Linked DNA regions of Homo sapiens: region 2 is linked to region 1. Evidence: promoter capture Hi-C in 16 types of primary human blood cells and fetal thymus (Javierre and others, 2016). All regions are on one chromosome and are shown on one strand. Each heading gives the region's core, a stretch centred on a gene start or on the middle of the fragment in contact. The rest is flanking DNA. Distances are from core to core; before and after follow the strand shown.

The links. Contacts are between HindIII fragments. The CHiCAGO score rates a contact against its expected background, and 5 or more counts as called.
Region 2: a contact is called between a fragment that was not itself captured here and the fragment with the promoter of MAGED2 in region 1, in 1 of 17 cell types (total B cells). The highest score is 5.6, in total B cells.

Annotation. Positions count from the first base shown.
Region 1 is chrX:54,804,808-54,808,994 of GRCh38, forward strand. MAGED2 (MAGE family member D2) reads left to right here and starts at 2,938. Exons shown (of 13, transcript NM_177433.3): 1 at 2,938-2,995. The HindIII fragment of the contact is 6,434 bases long and covers 1-4,187 here.
Region 2 is chrX:54,237,673-54,242,172 of GRCh38, forward strand. WNK3 (WNK lysine deficient protein kinase 3) reads right to left here. Exons shown (of 24, transcript NM_020922.5): 18 at 1,196-1,427; 19 at 670-800. Among named protein-coding and RNA genes, the nearest start is that of FAM120C, 57 kb to the left of the region's middle. The HindIII fragment of the contact is 209 bases long and covers 1,316-1,524 here.

The sequences.
Region 1 (4,187 bases), core at 1,688-4,187:
GGCTATGTATCTAGCTAAAAATCAGGTGACTTATTACTAAGGAAGAAGAGGAGGATGAATACTAGGGTAAGCAATTAGCAAGCTATGCCACAAACATGTGCACTGAAACTATTCCTTCCAAGGTCACCAGAGACCACCACTTGATCGTCAAAATCCCCAGACATTTTTTCAGGTCTTACTTTTCTTGATTCTTGGCACCATTCATCACTATTGACCTTGACTCCTCCCTCCTTTTGAAACAATCTCTTCCCTTACTTTTGTGACACTCCTTTCTCCGGTTTTTTTTTTTGTGTTTGTTTGTTTGTTTTTTTTGATGGTGTCTCACTCTATCACCCAGGCTGGAGTGCAGCGGCACAATCTCGGCTCACTGTAACCTCTATCTCCCAGGTTCAAGCGATTCTCCTGCCTCAGCTTCCCGAGTAGCTGAGACTACAGGTGTGGTCCACCACACCCAGCTAAATTTTTGTATTTTTAGTAGAGATGGGGTTTCACCGTGTTGACCAGGCTGGTCCTGAACTCCTGACCTCAGGTGATCTGCCCACCTCAGCCTCCCAAAGTGCTGGGATTACAGGTGTGAGCCACCATGCCCGGCCCTCTCCTGTTTTTCTCTCTGCCTCTTTGGTCACTCCTTATCAGCCTCTTTCATGAGTTTCTTTTCCTCCACCTATACCAAAGATGCTGTTGGACTGCAGGGCTCTTCCGTGGGCCCATGTCTCTTCTAGCACTACGCATTCACCGGGGTGCTGTTACCCTTTCTCAGGAATTCAAGAACTATTTATGTACTGATGACTCCTAGATCTATAACCTCAGCCTAGACCACTTCTCTGAGCTTCAGATATGTATATTCAACTGCCTGTGGTACATTTCCACCTGGACATGCCACAGGTGCCTCAAAAGCAATGTTCAGTTCTTGTCTAACCTGCTCCTCAAACCCGCTCTTCCTTCAGTATTCCTGATCTCAGTGAAAGGGGTTACCATTCACACAATCTCTCAAATCAGATCGCCAAGAGTTCCCTTTGACACTCCCCTCCTCCTTGCCCTTCTCTTCACAATCCAGTTACTCAAGTCCAGTTACTTTTTACTTCTTTACTATCTCCTCGATTCAATCACTTCTCACTATCTGCCACCACTCTAGGCCAAAGCACAATCATTGCTTACCTAGATGACTACAAAAGTCATAAGCACTCTCCCTGTTTCCAAGACAACACCTAATCCACACTCCATATAGCAGCTAGGTGTTCTTTCTAAAACACAAACCTATGCTGTATCCTTGCCTAGAATTCTTTAGTAACTCCTGGGTGCTCTCAGGATCAACACCAAAGTCCTCATCTTGGCATTCTAAACTTGCCAACTTGCCATGATTTGGAAGGGGTGGGGAATTTGAGATGCCAGAAGTAGAAGAAAAGGAGGGGCTATGTCTAGTGTGGATAAGGGAGAAAATCTAGGAGGCAAGAACATGGTGAACTGATATCACACACTTGGAGAAAGCAATAATTCAGAGAAAGAGAAAAGACAGGAAAACAGAAGCCTGCCTTGAATATGCAAGAAATTTGTGTGTTTGTCTATCTTGAATTATCCATGGAACACAGGGATTCATTATATGTTATTTACATAGTAAAAGGTGACCACATAAAGCAGAAGACTTGTGTCCATTTGAATTACATTTATATGTGGAAAGGCACTGAATATTATTTCTGCAACTAACAGTTGTGCTGAATTTTATTATGGTTTCTAATAACTTTTTAGTTGATGCTCTTGGGTTTTCCAGGTCTGCATTTATATATTCAGTAATTAATGATGATTTGTCTATTTCCTATTATTTTACATCTTATTTTGTTCTCTTGAACAGATCCAATTGGTTATGTGAATTTATTATGTGATAGAGGTGCCATTTCAAAGCAGAGAGGGAAAAGATGGATTAGTTTGCACATGATGTAGAGGTAAGAGACTATGATTTTGAAGAGTAATCAAGCTGAATCCGTATAGAAAATAAATTTTGAAATGATCAAACATCTAAATGTAAATAATAAAGCCACAAAAGTGCTTGAAAAAAAAAACGGGGTTTGTTATAGGAGTGTGAAAAGCATCTTTAAGCAAGCAGCAGAATCCAGTTGTGATGAAGGAAAAATGGATATATTTGACTACATAATAATTAAACATTTTTGTTTGGCAAAAATTATCATAAATAACATGAAAAATATTTGTAATATGTGACATGTACAGGAGAGACATTGCTGGCGGGAATGTTATCCATTTACTTTTTAGGAGTAAGTTGACAAATTTTGCATCAAAATGGAAGACTTTTTTGTAGCATTTGAGCTAGCAAAAAATACCATAAATAACAAAAAGTGCACCAAGCAATCTAAATGTACATGTGTACTGGACTGGTTCAATAAATTATGGGACATCTATGCAAGAAAAGATCATGCAGCTGTTTAGAAAAATGTGCACTAACGGAAAGATGTTTTATATATAACTGGAAAAAAACAGGTCGCAGAACAGAAGGTATGTATAGTGTACCATTTGTCGGAGAGAGAACCTGAATAATTAGTATACGAATAGAAAAAAAATCTGGATAGCAAAATGTTAATAGTGGTTATTTCTGGGAGATGAGTGGCCTTTCATTGGTGTGTTATATATTACTGCATTGTTTGAATTTTTACAACAACAACAAAAGAACAACATATTACCTTTGTAATAAGAAAAAATGAAGATATAAAAATAAATTCAATGAATGACTTGCTTTCAGGGGGCGGTTTGAGTTGGAAGAGCTTCAGACTGAGCCTGGTACAGTGGCATAAACATGGGCTTTGGCGTCAGACAGCCCTGAGCGGGGCCCCATTGCCCCACCCCCGAGGAAGGCGAGGGGGGGTGGCAGGGGGCTGCGGAAAGGGGCTGGGCTGGGTTGGGCTGTCTGCAGCTCTAGTCCAGGAGGCTGAGACTTCGAGAGGGACTTAGAGAAGGCAGACGCATCCCGAACTCGCTGGAGGACAAGGTGAGGGGCGTTGATATTGGGGTTTTATGGAGGTCAGACAGTGGTTCCAGACCCCTCGAACCCATAGCCAGGCAGATGAGCAATTCTTACTGCACCACTGCAGCTGAAGCAGAGGTGACCTGGAGTGGGGTGTAGGCAATGAGGACGACTGAGAAAGTAGTAGGCTGTACAGACTGGGAGCAGAGACTAGCGGAGGGAGGAGGGGAGAAAAACGGGGAACCAGGAATGTTGGGAGGGGGACGAGGAATACAAGGAGGGAGGGGAACACTGAGGGGGAGTGAAGATCCAGAGAAGAGAATCGGGGATGCAGAGAGGGATTAAGGAATACTGAGGGGCAGGGTGTGCAAACGTAACACGGAGGAGGATGTAAGAAATGGGAAGAAGGAATTCTGGAGTAAATAGGAAATGTGAGGTAGGAATAGGGAGTAGGGAGCCAGGCTAAGGGAATACGGAGGGGGGCATAAGGAATGAGGAGCAGGGAGCGGGGGAGGGGCAGACAGGCTGGGACGGAGGCCCCCTAGGGAGGCGGAAAGGGGCGGGACCACTTCCGGCCTAGAGAGGGGAGGGCAGTCTCCGAGTTTCGGAGGGGCTTGGAGTGAGTGGACGCACTCGGGAATTGTAGGAGGACGAGGTGAGCAGCCGGGTCGGCTTTTGGATGAGAGCCCCGCTAGGGGTCGGCCCCACCCTCTGGGATCTGGAGAAAACCTGCCTTAAGGACCGGATCGTACCGGATCCATCCGGCTGGGAAGGGAGGGGACTGGACCCGGTTTGGCCGGGCCCAAGATGGAATCACTAGCTCAGTATTTATTTGAGGAGGGGGTGTAATAGGGAAGGGGCGGAACCAAGATGCGCCTGTTTGGAGGGGGGCGTGTTAGGAAGAAGGGCGGGGCCAAGAGACACTGGACTCTGTAGGGCGTGAGTAGGGGAGGGGCCGGGTCCACCAGACACTGCGACAATTTTGGAGGAAGGCTTGTTGGGCAGGGGGCGGGACCGAATGGTACTGCGGACCTGGAGAGGGGCGTGTGTTGGGGCAGAGTGCCAGACTGAGACCACGACCATTGCGCATGCGCACTATGTTTCGCTAGAAAGGGGCGTGTTGAGAAGGGCCAGCACTGAGAAGAGCCAGCTGCTGAATGCGCATGTGCACGGTGGACATCAAAGAAAGGGCTCGTGCTGGGAAAGCGGGCGGGGC
Region 2 (4,500 bases), core at 170-2,669, 570 kb before region 1:
TTCAATCAGGCCCCTTGGGTAAAGAGAGTGGGCATCATATTGCTCAAATAAAATTCCACAATTAGAGTTGCTGAGATTCTAAAGGACGTGAAATTACATTTATAAAAGAGGACCCACCCACCCGCCAAAAGAAAACCTATTTCTGTGCTCTCTACCAGCTATGAAAATCTCCATTTCTTTAGATTCATCTTTACTGATGGCTTCAAAAGGTGAGGGGATGCATGCAAGATGAACAAATTAAATATGACAATGATCTACATTTAAAGTAAGTATCATCGGCCAGGCATGGTGGCTCATGCTTGTAATCCCAGCACTTTGGGAGGCCGAGGCAGGCGGATCACCTGAGGTCAGGAGTTCAAGACCAGCCTGGCTAACATGGTGAAACCCCGTTTCTACTAAAAATACAAAAAATTAGCCGGGTGTGGTGGCGCGCACTTGTAATCCCAGCTACTCGGGAGGCTGAGGCAGTAAAATCGCTTGAACCAAGGAGACGGAGGTTGCAGTGAGCTAAGATCACACCATTGCACTCCAACTGGGCAACAAGAGTGAAACTCCATCTCAAAAAAAAATAAAAACAAAAATGGAAGTATCATCTACAGACCAAGATCTCCACTGGCTGTTATATTTTATAATGCCCTTGTAGATAAGGATTCAATCAAAGACACAAACCTGGAACCGACCCCGCTGAAATGATCCACTCATCGCTTTACATCTATTCAAAGCCCTAGTATCAGCTGTGGACTCCCGTGTCAGAGGAATGGGATCAGGAGCAATTGCTGATCTCATCTCTTCTGTTTCCACTGCAAGTTTTGCCAAATTGTAAGTAAAAAAGAGAAAATTGTTTGTTAAGACTAAATTTGTTTACATTACCAAAAATGAAGAAAAGTAGAAAAAGCTTAACTCCTGCTAGACAATTAAAAGGTGTTAATGTAATAAGCAACATTGTATTAAGTCCCTAAGTCTAAATCAGACATTGCAAGATTTATCCCAAGACTTAGTATCTATATGAAATGAATAACCGGAAAACCAAATTAGTTACAAAAGGAAAAAATAAAATGGCAATGACATTAATGGGACATGTCACATACATGGGCTATGTGGAAAAAGTGGCAAGATTTGTATATGAACAACAAAAAAAATAAGTAAATGAAAAGTGATGTTACCTAGTCTATGTCCCTGACTGTAAGCACACTACCTTGACGGACTTTTGATCTCTTGAAAAAGCTGGTTGACTGCCGTAGCCTGTATGCCCAGCTTTTTAATTTGCGAGTCCAGGATTTCTTGCTAATAGGATTTTTGAGACTAGGACAAGTAAAGCTTAGGCCAAAATATCCACCTCCTGTCTGCAGATGAATGGCTCCACCGCTTGACACAGCAGCAGGATAGGCCTCTGGATCCCCTGGAAGTGAAGCATCTGAGGACATCTCCTAATGGAGACAAAACAAAACAAAACAAAACAAAACAAAACAAAACAAAACAAAACAACCGAGAAAAACCAAAGTGGTAATAATTTAGGTAAGGTGAAGCTTTTAAAAAAAAAAAAAAACGGAATTTCTTGTATAGACTAATCTTTAACCCAAAATAGAGTATTACGTATATAGTTGCATTAATAGTAGCATATCAGACTGAACCCAAAGTACTCAATTTATAAAAAGCCTTGTTTCTTTAAAAATATTATTTAGACTTTAGTAAATAAAAGAGAAGATTATTAATCTTCTACCCCAGAATATTTTTCATCATTATACAAACTTTGAAAACTGAAAATCAAATTAAAATTTCCTTCATATGTGCCAGTTTACTAAAAAGGTTACTAAAACTCCATGCTATTATCATGGAAATTTTCATTTATGCCTATATTATTTAAGAGACTCAGTTAAAGATGCTTGAAACACATAAAAACAGAAAAAAACAAGATATCTAGGCACTTAGATTTACAGAGAAGTATCAGGAAATCAAGTTTCTTACTTTATGAAAGCATAGGGAAATTTATAAAGGACATCAAAATTACTTCAAAATCATGCTCTAAAAATTCTTGTTAACGTCAGGCTATGCTGGCTATAAAATCAATCCCCTCTTCTTGTCCTTCTACTCCCCGCAAAAGGGCCCCAGATATAACTGTTGTATCTAAATGAGTGCTTTAAAGATAAATCCCCTATAATAATTAATATGAAAAGTTAGCACAGACAACCACAAATATTTTGGGAAACATGAGAAGGGTCACTACTAATCTAGAAGATTAAAAAAATATATAAAAGCACAAAGAATGGGATTTAGCATTTGCCTGAAAGAAGATAGCCTACATGGCAGTAAGTATGATGTCTTGGGTAAGCATTATTACTACTTAGGGCAGGGCTGGGCGCAGTGGCTCACGCCTGTAATGCCAGCATTTTGGGAGGCTGAGGTGGGCAGATAACCTGAGGTCAGGAGTTTGAGACCAGACTGGCCAACATGGTGAAACCCCGTCTCTACTAAAAATACAAAATCAGCCTGTCGTGGTGGTGCCTGCCTGTAATCCCAGCTACTTGGGAGGCTGAGGCAGGAGAATAGCTAGAACCCGGAGGCGGAGGTTGCAATGAGCCGAGATCGCACCATTGCACTCCAGCCTGGGCAACAAGAACGAAACTCTTGTTTCAAAAAAAAAAAAACAAAAAAACAAACACAAACTTATGGCAGGTCAGGACATATTAAAAATAAAATTGTAAGCAATCAGTTTTTACTTTCTGAAGTCTCATTTTAAACTAGTAATAATTAGTTTCATGAGAAGAAAAAAATCAGTATTACAATTTAGAAAATGTTACATTGGTCCCACTGAAATTACAGAAAAGAATTTTAATATGTAGTAACTGGATCAAGATGGCAAATTAAATATTTGTTCTAGCCTTCCTTATCAATCCAAATTTACAGACACAACAGGAAAATATACATAGACACATGCATATATGACTGACAGAGGAAAAAGTAGACCATGACATATGTAGGAATTGTTTCAAAATGCTGCAAACCTGAGTGGCTGATACGGGCAGCAGGAGAGAACCCTGGCCAACTAAAAAGATGAGTGGTAGGCTAGAATGCTTACAAAACTCTATCAGATCTATCTTCTGTCTCTTTCAATGTTATCTCTTAATGCTCTCCTGTTTACTGGCCGCCTTTTGGTTCCTTGAACAGATCTCTGCCTATGACTGTCACCATCACATACAAGTCTTTCCCTGACTACCATATATAGGTTTAGTATCCATTTTCTTCTACTAGATGTAAACTCCACAAAAACAGAGGTTTTGACTTATTCACTGCTAAAGAGATATTTACTGAATGGAAGAATGAACTGGTTGGGATAACAAAGAAGGAACAGGCAGGCAGTTCTGTCCCTTCTCTCCCCACCTCCAGACCAAGCAAAGGGCAGCAGAGGCATGCGCCCCCAAATAAGAGCAGTAAGAGGAAAAGGTTTTGTGGCCAAGAAAGAGGTCAACGATGTAGGAAGGAGACGACATCCAGGAAGAAAGGTAAGCCCTCCTACATTTGGAGACTAGCTACTGGGCCACCCTCCAGGCAGCATTAGAGATAAGTTACAAAATACAGTGCCAGGGAGCATGTCCCATACCTTTCCCACAATTACTGAAGGAAAGTTACGGTAATTACATAAAACACTTACAGACAGATGAACAAGGAATCTCATGAGTGAAAAAGAAGAGAACACAACTAAGAATCACTAAACACCAAGGGAAAACTAACATTATAAGAAAATACTAAACTCGGCAAACAGAATAGCCAAGGAAATAGCATTAATAACACAGAATAAGACTTCAATATATTCAGAGAGATGTGTGAATATACTACATTGATAAAGAAAGGAATGAACTACAGTTACTAGAAATTAAAACAATGTAATACTTGATACAAAAAATAGCTGAATAGGAGATGCAACCGCTTAAAAATTGAGAAATTATCCCAGTACAAAAAGCAAAAGGACAAACAAATGAAAAGCATAAGTTTATAGATAAGAGCTGCGCGCAGTGGCTCACACCTGTAATCCCAGCACTTTGGGAGGCTAAGGCGGGTGGATCATCTGAGGTCAGGAGTTCCAGACCAGCCTGGTCAACATGGTGAAACCTCATCTCTACCAAAAATATAAAAATTAGCTAGGCGTAGTGGTGAGCGCCTGTAATCCCAGCTACTTGGGAGGCTGAGGCAGGAGAATTGCTTGGACCTGGGAAGTGGAGGTTGCAGTGAGCTGAAATCATCCCATTGCACTCCAACCTGGGCGACAGAGTAAGACTCCATCTCAAAAAAAAAAAAAAAGTTTGTATATAAGAAAAATAAAAATGGGAAATGAAGAAATAAAACTATCTCTATTCACAGTTGACATGCTCTTATATATAGAAAATCCAAAATAATCCACCAAAAGTTATTGGAGCTAATAAACAAACTCAGTAAAGTTGGAGGATACATCAACACATAAAAATCAGTTGTATTTTTATATACTAGCAATGAAGAATCCAAAAC